2 separate regions of the Homo sapiens genome follow, and region 2 is linked to region 1. The links are contacts of gene promoters, found by promoter capture Hi-C in blood cells and fetal thymus (Javierre and others, 2016). All regions are on one chromosome and are shown on one strand. Each heading gives the region's core, a stretch centred on a gene start or on the middle of the fragment in contact. The rest is flanking DNA. Distances are from core to core; before and after follow the strand shown.

What was found. Contacts are between HindIII fragments. The CHiCAGO score rates a contact against its expected background, and 5 or more counts as called.
Region 2: a contact is called between a fragment that was not itself captured here and the fragment with the promoter of LGR5 in region 1, in 1 of 17 cell types (activated CD4 T cells). The highest score is 5.9, in activated CD4 T cells.

Annotation. Positions count from the first base shown.
Region 1 is chr12:71,436,581-71,442,689 of GRCh38, reverse strand. It overlaps LGR5 (leucine rich repeat containing G protein-coupled receptor 5), which reads right to left and starts at 2,892. Exons shown (of 18, transcript NM_003667.4): 1 at 2,398-2,892. The coding sequence starts at 2,609. LOC124902962 (a long non-coding RNA gene) reads left to right here. Exons shown (of 3, transcript XR_007063364.1): 2 at 1,103-1,222. The HindIII fragment of the contact is 5,220 bases long and covers 545-5,764 here.
Region 2 is chr12:71,734,278-71,740,386 of GRCh38, reverse strand. No RefSeq gene overlaps it. Among named protein-coding and RNA genes, the nearest start is that of RAB21, 18 kb to the left of the region's middle. The HindIII fragment of the contact is 1,452 bases long and covers 2,292-3,743 here.

The DNA of each region.
Region 1 (6,109 bases), core at 1,643-4,142:
GCTCAAAGGGCATCCCATGGGCCCTGGCATTTTTTAGTATATAGGGACACCAAATTATGAAATCACACATTATAAAGAACACCACATTGCTTATTTACTTCAGGACTGACTTCTATATTCAGCACTCATATTCCCTGAACTGTGTTGCATTAGAAATAAGTATTTAACATTTACTGTATCACTTTTTACAGATACTCTGAGTTTAATATTTCACAGGGCACTGGGAAAATGTCTTCTTAGGCCAGGGTACAGGCTGTCATCACATGAGAATAATATGGCACTTAATTTCCTAATAGTATCTTAACTTCAAGAGGTTATCTATAATATAGATAGATAGATTGTTCTATCTATAGATAGATAGGGAACATTGGCAGTAGGTGGCAGTAAGTTCCCCTGAGCACATGGAGGACACAGTTAAATGCATTTGAGGTATGTGGGAAATGGTTTAAAGCAGAATTTTATGCCAACTTTTAGTAACGGAAGCCTAACAAATGTTTGTTCTTTCAAGTGAGAGAAGCAAGCAATCTGGAACTATTCATAAGCTTATTTTCTGTATCCTTAAACATATTTTATAATGAATGTATGATTTAAATAGTAAGTTAAGTGTCTGGGGGTACTGCACACCTCCCTTGCATACAGTCAAACTTCTTCAGGGTGATGGGGAAGAGGAGTTATAGGCTGCCAAGCAAAATTGCCAAACTGGTCTCAGAAATTCACTGCATTGGAGAGCGCGGGATCCTTGCAACACTGACTTTAGCAGTTAAACTAGAGTGGTTGGGGATGAGTATTCTGCTTTGTAGTAGAGATAGCTGTTCAGGAGGAGGAAATGTGAATTCTGAGAGCGTGATCATTTAGGAGAGATTTCCATTCCTGGAACGATATCACTACCACATGCACGAGTGCAATTGAAGGGAAACCTGGTGGGGAAACAGTTTTAACATTCTTTCAGGTAAAAAAGAAAAAGCAGTCAAAATAGCTTTATGGTAGAGGAGGAGGCGACCTGCCATCTACCAATCCTAAAATCTAGCAGAATGGTACCTTTCTTTAAAGACAATATTAAAGCAAGTAAAAGATGTTTTTTTCTTCCTCACTCTGTCTCCAGAAAAAGAATCACTACCTAGTGGAAAATGTTGTGCAAGCCTCTTCATGTTTCTTCCCTCCAGAAAACAACTAAACAGATGGAAGAACTGGTTCACAAACATCCCAACTCTCTCCTGCCAAGGTACATCAGAGAAGCCGAAAACTGGGACTGCATGGGCTTGGGGTGGGCTCGCTGCAATGTCTTGATCTAAAACCTAAATGTTTCACCTTGTGGTAAGGAGCACCTGTTTCCCAGAGTGGCCTAGAACCTGGCCTCTCTGCTGGAAGGAATGAAGCCCCAGATGCTTTGCACGGGGGTGGAGAGAGTAGTCGCCTTGGTCTCCGAGAATAGGGTTCCTCCTGGGTCACCGCGTTCACCCAACTACCTGTTACCTTCGGGCCTGGGTTTTCCACAGAAAAAATTACGCAATGAGCCGCCGCCTCAGGGCTTTGGAAGTTGCAGTGGGGAGAGAAGGGGTGGGAGAATCCCCCAGGGATGATAGAGAGCTTCAGGTCTCCCTTTGGGTGTCGGTGCCGCTGTTTACCAGCCCAACAGCCTTCAGCCCACTTCCCCTTTCCTCCCCGGGGGAAGAGATGGTTAAAGATTACACAGCGGCCGCGGGCACTTCAAAGGGCGGCGCGGGCAGCCAAAGGTAAAGATAACGTTCTGGCAGCTCTAATCGGGGTTTGTGGTTGCCACATTTTAATCACGCCGTTAAAAAAGAAAGAAAATAAAAAGAAAGGAGGGAGGGAAGGAAGGAAGAAGGGAGGAAGGAAGGGAGGAAAAGAGGAAAAAACCCCAAAAAGGTTACATCACGTCACAGTGCAAGGGATGCAGACTAAAAACCCTTTGGAGCTGGGCAAGTTGTTTCTCCTTTGGGGAAACTTTCTACAGACCATCTTTTCGTGGAATGCGACTAGACGCAGAGAGGCGGTTGGGGCGGGGACCAGATGGCAGCCTGCCTTTGGGTACCAGGCTCTGGGTCACAAATGTCCACTCCGCACGCAAATGCCTGCATTTGCAGGAATTCGCCCTGCGATGTTTCTAGCGCTGGACTGGGAAGCTGCGGCGCAGCAGCGCTTTCCCGGGTTGCACTCGAAGCCATTTCTCTGCGGGTCCAGAAAGTGCCGGCACGCTACTCCCCGAGACACGTGCATTTCTCTGGGGGCCCTAACAGGCCTGGCCAGGATGCCCTTGACAAACTCGCCCCCCTCCCCCACGAGCAGGCGGGCGCCGAGGAGCCTCCAGCCTCGCCTTGGACGAACCTTCCTTCCCCTCTTAGTCTCTCTCCCGGAGTGACGTGGGGAAGTACTTACAGGTAGGAGGTGAAGACGCTGAGGTTGGAAGGCAGCTCCGAGAGCCCCAGGTCGGAGCAGTCCACCCTGAGCAACATCCTGCCGTCGGGCTCGCAATGACAGTGTGTGGGGCAGCCCCTCAGCAACACACCAGACCTGGGAGAGCTGCCCCCGGTCGCCAGCTGCAGCAGCACAGGCAAGGACAGGAGCACACCGAGCCGGGAGGTGTCCATGGTGCCCGAAGTAGGGGGCCACGAGCCGGACGCGGGCGGAGAGCAGCACCGGACTGCTACGGGCCGTGGCGCGCCGGGCGCCGCTCCGTGGGCTTCTGCAACTCAGCGGGCGTCTGCAGCGCCAGACGCCGCGTTCCTGACCCCACGGCGTGGGCGGCGAGGAGAAGCGCGGCGGGGACAGAGGTGCCGGTTGCCGCCACGCCGGCCTTCGGAGCAGCCCTGGCTGCAGCGGCGACAGTGGCGGTGCGCCTTGCTGCTGCTCGCGGCCTGAGCGGTGTGGAGCAGCATCTCTGCTTGCACGCTCGTTTTTTAAAGCGCTCCAGCCCGAATTGCGCGCCCAGTGACGTCAGCGCAGCCTGGCTTCCCAGGCACCCCCCGCCCGGCCCCACTTTCCCTCCACTTGTCCCCTCCCTCCTTTCCCAAGTCCTGGGCTGGGAGGCAGCAGGCAGCAGGCAGCGCGCGGTACTGGCGAGTTCTCGGCGCTCCCACTGAGCCTCCGCCTGGAAGATTCAGTGCTCAACGCCGCGCGCCGGAATAGGGGACCCCCCCACCCTTACCCCTTCATGCGTGCTGGAGACCCAGATCTAAGAGTCGAGAGGGACCTGCTTCGGAGAGACCTAAACAGACGCACAAGGACTGGAGGATGCGGCACGTTTCCTCCGAGCCCGCTTCAAATAATGGATGAGATACTTGAAGTGATTAAACAGAATAAAACAAAACAAAAACACAAAAACTAAAATCCTATGCAGAGAAATAGTTACGTTATCAGGGTAAGGAGGCAGGCGTCCCCGGCGAATGATAGGTGGCCTTTTTGATCCTTACGTCTGCCGCACTGTCTGGCTCGCTTTTGCCCTAAAATCAAAGCTCTAGGCTAATCGCTAAACAAATACAGCTCCTGAGCGAGCACTCCACTGCTGCCTTCCTATCTCTTGCGGGGTGAGGAAGTCGAAGTGACTCATTTGTTTTTTAAAAGTGGTTTAGAATACCCTAGAAGTCACTTTTAGTAAATCGATGCCAGAGTGACAGATGGCTGTTTGCTAACTTCCAGGGACTTTTCATCTTAAGTGTCCCAGCGCTCTCTGAACTGAGAGCAGTCCCACCTATGTGAGTGACACTGGGCTCTGAGAACCGCTGCAGAGCGCCAGGGGGAAAATGCATGCTCTTGCTTCAAAAAGTGTCCTATAGTGAATCTGCAGGAAAAAGGAGGAAAAGGATTCAGGGCTTTCTTGGAGAGAAGCCCTCGTTGAGGTACAAATAGCCCTCGCCAGACCTGAGTGAGCTGCTGAAAGAGGTGGTATTCCAAGCCTGCCACACCAACTCACAAAAATGCAGTTTTCACTCTGGGGCACAATGCCTCACAGCATCATGAAGGCAGGATACCCTGTTGATTTTCCAAGTCCTTTTTAATCTTCCTGCATTTAGACTGCCCAACAAAATTTCCCAAATAAACGTCTAAATTTTAGAGTTGGGAAGAGCTGTTTCTCTGTGCAGTGTATGTGCCTTCCTTCATGTCCAAACCTCGCTGTTTGTTCACCTAAAATATATAATTTCTTGACCACAATCTGTAGTCTGAACATCTTCCTTTCTTGGGTGAAAAAACAAACAACAAACAAAGCACTTGACAGTGCTAGTGCCACTGAAAATTGTGAGTTAACTCCGGTTTCCGCACAATCAGTACAGAGAGCCCGCGTCTCTGGACACCCTTTTCCTTCACTTTTCCCTATGTATACCACATTCACTGCTACTCTGTGCTTATTCTCACATTATTCTTGCTTCCCTTAGCCATTCTTTCCACATTTAAAGAATGCCTACCTTGTGTCTTTCTTCCTTTTTTTAAACATTTTAAAAAAAATTTCAATGGCTTTTGGGGGTACAAGTGGGTTTTGGTTATATGGATGAATTATACAGCGGTGAATTTTGAGATTTTAGTGCACTCATCACCCAAGTAGTGTATGTTGTACCCAATATGTAGTTTTTAATCCCACACCCTTCTCCTACCCTCCCTTTTTGGGATCTCCAAAATCCGTTTTAACACTCTGTATGCTTATGCATATTCATAGCTTAGCTCCCACTTATATGTGGGAAAATATGGTATTTGGTTTTCCATTCCTGAGTTACTTCACTTAGAATAATGGCCTTCAGCTCCCTTCAAGTTGCTACAAAAGACTTTATTTTATTCCTTTTTATGGCTGAGTACTCTTCCATGCTGTATGTATACCACATTTTCTTTATCCACCCACTGGTTGATGGGCACTTACGTTGGTTCCACATCTTTACAATTGTGAACTGAGATGCAATAAAAATACGTGTGCATGTGTCTTCTTCATATAATAACGTCTTTTCCTTTGAATAGTGATATGGTTTGGCTCTGTGTCCCCACCCAAATCTCATGTCGAATTGTAATCCCAAGCATTGGAGGAAGGGCCTGGTGGGAGGTGATTGAATCATGGGGGTGAATTTCCCCCTTGCTGTTCTCATGATAGTGAGTTCTCATGAGATCTGGTTGTTTAAAAATGTGTTGCATTCCACCTTTGCCCTCTCTCTCCTGCTTCCTCATGTGAAGACGTGCCTGCTTCCCCTTCTTCTTCCACCATGATTGTAAGTTTCCTGAGGCCTCCCCAGCCATGCTTCCTGTACAACCTGTGGAACCATGAGCCAATTAAACCTCTTTCATTATAAATTACCCATTCTCAGGTAGTTCTTTATAGCAATGTGAGAATGGACTAATACAGAAAATTGGTACCAGGAGAGAGGCATTGCTATAAAGATATCTGAAAATGTGGAAGCAATTTTGTAACTTGGTAATGGGCAGAGGTTGGAACAGTTTGAATGGCTCAGAAGAAGACAGGAAGAAGAGGGAATGTTTGAAACTTCCCACAGACTTGTTAAATTGTTGTGATCAAAATGCTGATAGTGACATGGACACTGAAGTCCAGGCTGAGGTGGTCTCAGATGGAGATGAAGAACTTGTTGGGAATTGGAGCAAAGGTCACTTTTGTTATTCATTAGCAAAGAGGTTCTAGGCATTGTGCCCCTGCCCTAGAGATCTGTGGAACTTTGAACTTGAGAATGATGATTTAGGGTATCTGGCAGAAGAAATTTCTAAGTGGCAAAGCATTCAACATGTGACCTGAGTGCTTCTAACAGCATAAGCTTATATTTGTGAGCAAAGAGATAATCTGAAACTGAAACATATTTAAAAGGAAAACAGAGTGTAAAAGTTTGGAAAATTTGCAGCCCTGCCAAGTGGTAGAAAAGAAAAACCCATTTTCTCAGGAGTAATTCAAGCTGGGCCTAGGAAGGAAGAATGATTTTGCAGGCTGGCCCCAGGGTCTGGGTGTCCCACTTCCTTAAGCCCCACTGCCCTGACCAACCTCAAGACACTGCTCCCTGCATCCCAGCCACTGCAGTTCTAGCCATGACTAAAAGGGCCCAAATATGTCTGAGGCAGCTGCTCCAGAGGGTGTAAACCCTGACCCTTGGCAGCTTTCGCTTGGTGG
Region 2 (6,109 bases), core at 1,768-4,267, 300 kb before region 1:
CAGTCCAAATTAAGCCCATTAACAGGTACTGTCAGTAGATGACTTTGCCTTCTTGATTACTAAAAACTAGATTGATAGATATGTTCTCCCTCAACTTTCAATTCTCCTACTTAATAATAATGGCAATGGTTGCAATTATTCAGAATTTTCCATGTACTAGACTTCTTTTTACATGTATTAACTAATTTAATCCTAATAACAATTTTATGAGCATTATTAGTATTGTCCCAATTTACAGATTAAGAAAACCAAGTGACAGCCAGGCATGGTGGCTCACGCCTGTAATCCCAGCACTTTGGGAGGCGGAGGCAGGTGGATCATGAGGTCAAGAGATCGAGACCATCCTGGCCAACCTAGTGAAACCCTGTCTCTACTAAAAATACAAAAATTAGCTGGGCGTGGTGGTGCGCACCTTAGTCCCAGCTACTCGGAGGGAGGCTGAGGCAGGAGAATTGTTCGAACCTGGGATGTGGAGGTTGCAGTGAGCTGAGATCGCGCCACTGCACTCCAGCCTGGCAACAAACCAAGACTCCATCTAAAAAGAAAAAGAAAAGAAAACCAAGTGACAGAGAGGTTTAAGTAACTGGATCAAGATCACACTAAGAAACATTAGAGCAGTTTCCAAATGCAAGCACTAGGGCTTCAGGTATTAATCCCACACTATATTTCTTCACCACCTTTAACGGGGTTTCTTCCATTTCTTCTTCTTCTTCTTTTATTTATTTATTTATTTTTTAGATGGAGTCTCTGTCACCCAGGCTGGAGTGCAGTGCAGCGGCACAATCTCAGCTCACTGCAACCTCCGCCTCCTAGGTTCAAGTGATTCTCCTGCCTCAGCCTCTGAGTAGCTGGGATATCAGGCACGCATCACCAGGCCTGGCTAATTTTTATATTTTTAGTAGAGATGAGATTCACCATGTTGGCCAGGCTGGTCTCGAACTCCTGACCTCAAGTGATCCGCCTGCCTCGGCCTCCCAAAGTGCTAGGATTACAGGCTTGAGCCACCACGCCCGGCCTCTTCTTCCATTTCTAATCCACATTTCAAGAAGGATGTCTTCATGCATTGTCTCTACTTTTTTCACTTCTTAACCATGCCATCTGCTCCCATAGTACTATTCTGATATAATTAACCATAATCTTCATATTGCCAAATCCAATAGACATTTCTTAGTTATTCCTCTGGCATTTTCTGCTGTATTTGACTTTACAAATTTCTCTCCTCTAAACTGCATTAGATATTTCTTCTCTGTGTTCCCATAATGCCCTATATACATTCTTATTTTTGCAGTTATATAATGTATCATAATGAAATGCTCAGAAGTATTATGGTCTAAATGGGCCCCTTAAAATTCTTATGTTGAAACTTAATCGGCAATGTGATACTAAAAGATGGAGTCCTGTAAGAAGTGATTAAGTCATGAGGGCAGAACCCTAATGGATGGGATAGGGCCTTTAGAAGAAGACTTGAGAAAATGGATTCACTCTTCTCACTTTTTCCACCATGTGAAAGGACATAGTGTTCATCCCCCTTTTGCCCTTCCATCCTTTCTGACATGTGATGACACCTAGATGGTGCCATCTATGAGGAAAATGCCCTCACCAGACACAGAACCTTGATCTTGGACTTCCCAGCCACCAGAACTGTGGGAAATAAGTTCAGCTCTTTATAAATTACCCAATCTGTGTTATATTGTGATAGCAGCACAGGTGGACTAAGACAAGGAGCTGGACTGTTCACTGTGTCATAAGCTCCCTGACATCAGATGCTGTTTCTTCTCTATATTTGTATGTCCAGTGCCTACTATAGTGCCTGGCACATTGTAGGCATTAAAAAATAGTTTGTTAAATCAATAAATAACTGAAAACCATTTATTAATAATGGGTATATTATTTGTTGTCACTTTTACAGCAGCAAACACGAAAATCTCTCCAGGCATAGATTTTATGAGCTATATTATTATTATTTTTTGAGACGGAGTCTCGTTCTGTTGCTCTGGCTGGAGTGCAGTGGCACGATCTCAGCTCACTGCAACCTCCACCTCCTGGGTTCAAGCAATTCTCCTGCTTCAGCCCCTCAAGTAGCTGGGATTACAGGCCCCCGCCATCACACCTGGGTAATTTTTGTATTTTTAGTAGAAACAGCGTTTTACCATGTGGGCCAGGCTGGTCTCAAACTCCTGACCTCAAGTGATCCACCCGCTTCGGCCTCCCAAAGTGCTGGGATTATAGGCATAAGCCACTGCGCCAGGCCAGCTGTATTATTTTTTATGATTCAATAAGGAGATAAAGCTTGGCTGAAACTCAACGATTCTTCTCTTCCCCAATAGGACCCCTTATGATGCTCTGTGGAAAAAGGGAAATTAAATATGTTAATTTGTCAATTAACAAATAAATAAATAAATTGATATTATGGCCTTATAATAATACCCCCGGCATGATTTTCATTAGAAAGACTATTGCCATGAACTATGGGCTTGACAGCATTAATATAGCATCTTACTGCCTCCATCCTCATGCGCTTTCTTTCATGTTCAAAAGCAAAGGAAGTTTCATCAACCATTTTCAATCACTGACTCTGTAAGTTCAAGAATTTCAGGGACTGCTACAAAGAATCAGTTTGATTATTAAGTCAAAGCTAGACTTTTGCTTTCATGCTTAAAGAAGTAACTACTCTGGGACTCCTCTCCCTCCTACTGTAGACAACAAGAAACAGGGTGGAGAGGGTGGAATTAAACAAATGGACAACAGGCAGCACAGGACTGTGATCTTTGAGTGAAGGGAAATAATCTAGATGAGCATTTTAACTGCACTGGCTTTCTGTCTGGGGACAATTTCTAACCACAGTGTAGGAAGGTCTCATTAAGATGGGATGATAGTAATTGAAGTTCAGGGGTTCCGAAGCAGCTAAAATTTGTGGGACAGTAAAAAGGAGAGAAAGGAGCTAGAAAAAGAACTCCAGAAATTTGCATAGGGTTTCCTCCCTTGAGTCTTTGAGACTAAATTCAAATCTGTGTGCCTGAAGGGTGAAACTCCATGAGGCTGGGCAAAGAACAAATGCTGTGGAATGAACATTTACAGAGGTGCTGTAATGTAGAAAATTTTTAGAACTCCCAAAAGCCTGGGGATCATTTTAGTGCCCATCAGAGAAAGTAGAGAGACCTCATTGAATAAATGGGCCATTGAGTAGAGATCCCAGAGGGTTTCAGCTTAATAGTAGAGCTAAACTAGTTCTACAGTAAAGGCTACCTCTACTTACCTTAAAACACGTAAAATCAAACCTTGAAAAGATGAAGTTGATCCAAAAGTCACTTAATTACCTTCCAGAATAAAGTTGCATACTCCATAGGAATACTACAATAACTTTAAAGGAATATTACAAAAAACTCATGAAGACAGAAATCACAGTTCGGGGAGATTAGGCTGCTAGAATTGTGAGACAGAGAACTAGAGGGTAGGGCATTGAGTAGAGACAGACTTCTGCAGAACTGTAGAGGGGTTTCATAAAATATTTGACTAAGTACTGATTTGCACGCGACTGAAAGGAATTTTGGAAGTAGACACCGGAAAAGAATGAGCAAAATAATTACCAGCATTCATACAGAGAATAATTTGTGTTCCCACCAGTTGGATTGGAGAGGCCTTGTCATAGACAGGGCATCAGGTACAGCCCTCAGAAGAGTCAGGCCTTAGGAGTGTGGACAAACAGCCAAGTAAAGTCTTCTCTGGACCCACCATAACAAGCTTAATACAAAGCCTCAAATGGTTCAAACTAATCCTCAGGTGTATTAAAGTGAACATCAGAACAAAAATCAAAACTCTTTAAAAGGATACAAAAATTCAGTACTTCACAATGTAAAGTTCACAATGTCCAGCATCTAACAAAAAATGGCTCAGCCTGCAAAGAAGCAGAAAATATGATCCATAACTAGGATAAAAATTAGTCAATAGAAATGGGACAAGAAACGACAGAAGTGATGTAATTGGCGAGCAAAAACATTAAAACAGCTACTATAAATTTAAAAAATACACAAGTGAATTAAAGGAAAATGTGAACATAAGGAGGAGAGAAATGGAAGACATAAAATATGTTAATAAAATTTTTAGAGATAAAAATATAATTTATTAAATGAAAAATAACCGGATGGGATTAAGAGCCCATTAAACATTGCAGAGGAAACAATCAGTGAACTTGGGTAAGAACAATAGAAACTATGCAAAATGAAGTATACAGAAAAAAGACCAAATATAAGTGAATTGAGCCAAGGGGCAATATCAAGTGGTCTAACGTATATGCAAATGAAATCCTAGCAAAAGATAGGTGAGCAAAAATATTTGAAAGATGGTCAAGTACTTTCTAAATTTGATAAAAACTGTCAATCCAGAGATCCAAAAAAGTCAACAGACCCAAAGTAGAAGCGGTATACAGAAAGCTCCATAAAAGGAAATCAGTTTCAAATTGTTGAAAACCAGTGGAAGAGAAAAGTAGCCAAAGGAACAAAGATTTTTTAAAAAGTAACAATTTTCTCATGAGAAGTTATGCAGACCAGAAAACAATCAAATGGTATCTTTAAAGTGCTAAAAGAAAAAATATTCAACCAGTAATTATCTACCAGTGAAAATGTCTTTCAAAAATGAAGTCATGTCCAATCCTGGAAGCTAAGCATGGTTGGGCCTAGTTAGTACTTGGATGAGAGTACTGTTGAGTGATGTAGGTTTATTAAAAACTAAATTTAAAAATTTTAAAATGAAGTTTAAAATGATTTTCAGATCAATGAAAGCTGACAAAATTCATTGCAAGTAAATGTGCACTATAAGAAAGCTCTCTAGGCAGAAGAAAAATTATGAAAATGTGGATCTGTGCAAAGGAATGAAGAGTACCTGGAATGGGAAATCTTTGAGAAAGAAACATTAAATTTATTCCTCATATTTTAATCTCTTTAAAAGATAATTATTTGTAGCAAAACAGACAAGTAGAGAAAACTCACAATGCCAAAAGTTGCCTCTTTGAAAATATTAAAACAACTGATAAACCTGGCAAGAATAAAAAGAAAGAAAACTCAAATTATTAATATGAGAAATAAAAGAGGGGATATCATGACAGATCTTATGGATATAAAATCCATGAAAGAAAATCTCATGTGAATTAATGCCTACATGAAGTGGAAAAATTCCTGTAAAGACAGGAATTTTAAAATTCCTGTAAAGACAGGAATTTTAAAATTCCTTTAACTGACTCAAAAAAATAGGAAATTTGAATAGCACTATAGCTGTTAAATAAAATGAATTTATGATTTATAAATTTTAAGCAAAGAAAGTGTCAGAGCCAGATGACTTCACTGGTGAATTTTACCAAATATTTAATGGAAGAAATAATACCAATCCTACACAAAGTTTTTCAGAGGATTAAGGACAAAGGAACATTTTCAATTCATTTTATTATGTTTTGTATTTTTATTTTTTATGTTTTTGAGTCAGAGTCTCAATCTGTCACCCAGGCTGCAGTGCAGTAGCATGATCGCATCTCACTGTAGTCTTGACCTCCTGGGCTCGTTTTCCTCTCACTTCAGCCTCCCAAGTAGCTGGGACTACAGGCATTTGCCACCACACCCAGCAAATTTTCTCTATTTTTTTGTTGAGATGGGATCTCCCTATGTTGCCCAGGCTGGTCTCAAACACTTGGGCTCCAGGGTTCCTCCAACCCTGGCCTCCCAAAGTGCTGGGGTTACAGGTGTGAGCCACCATGCCTGGCTGCAGCTGATTTTATGATGCCAGCATTACCCTAAAACGAAAATTAGGCAGAAATTACAAGAAAAAGAAAACCCTGCTGGTCAATATCCCTCATAACTCTAGACACAAGAGTGATTTTTTAAATTGGCAAATTAAATCCAGTAATATATAAAAGGATGATACGCTGTGATTAAGTGGAGTTTATCCCAGTAATCCAGAATAGATTTAACAACAACAATAACAAAAATCAAAGAATGCAACTCACTATACTAACAGAATAAAGGAGGAAAACAATATGATTATTTCAATAGATTCAGAAAAAAACAAAATTCAACACACACTCATGATTAAAACTCTCAGCAAGCTATGAATAGAAGGGACT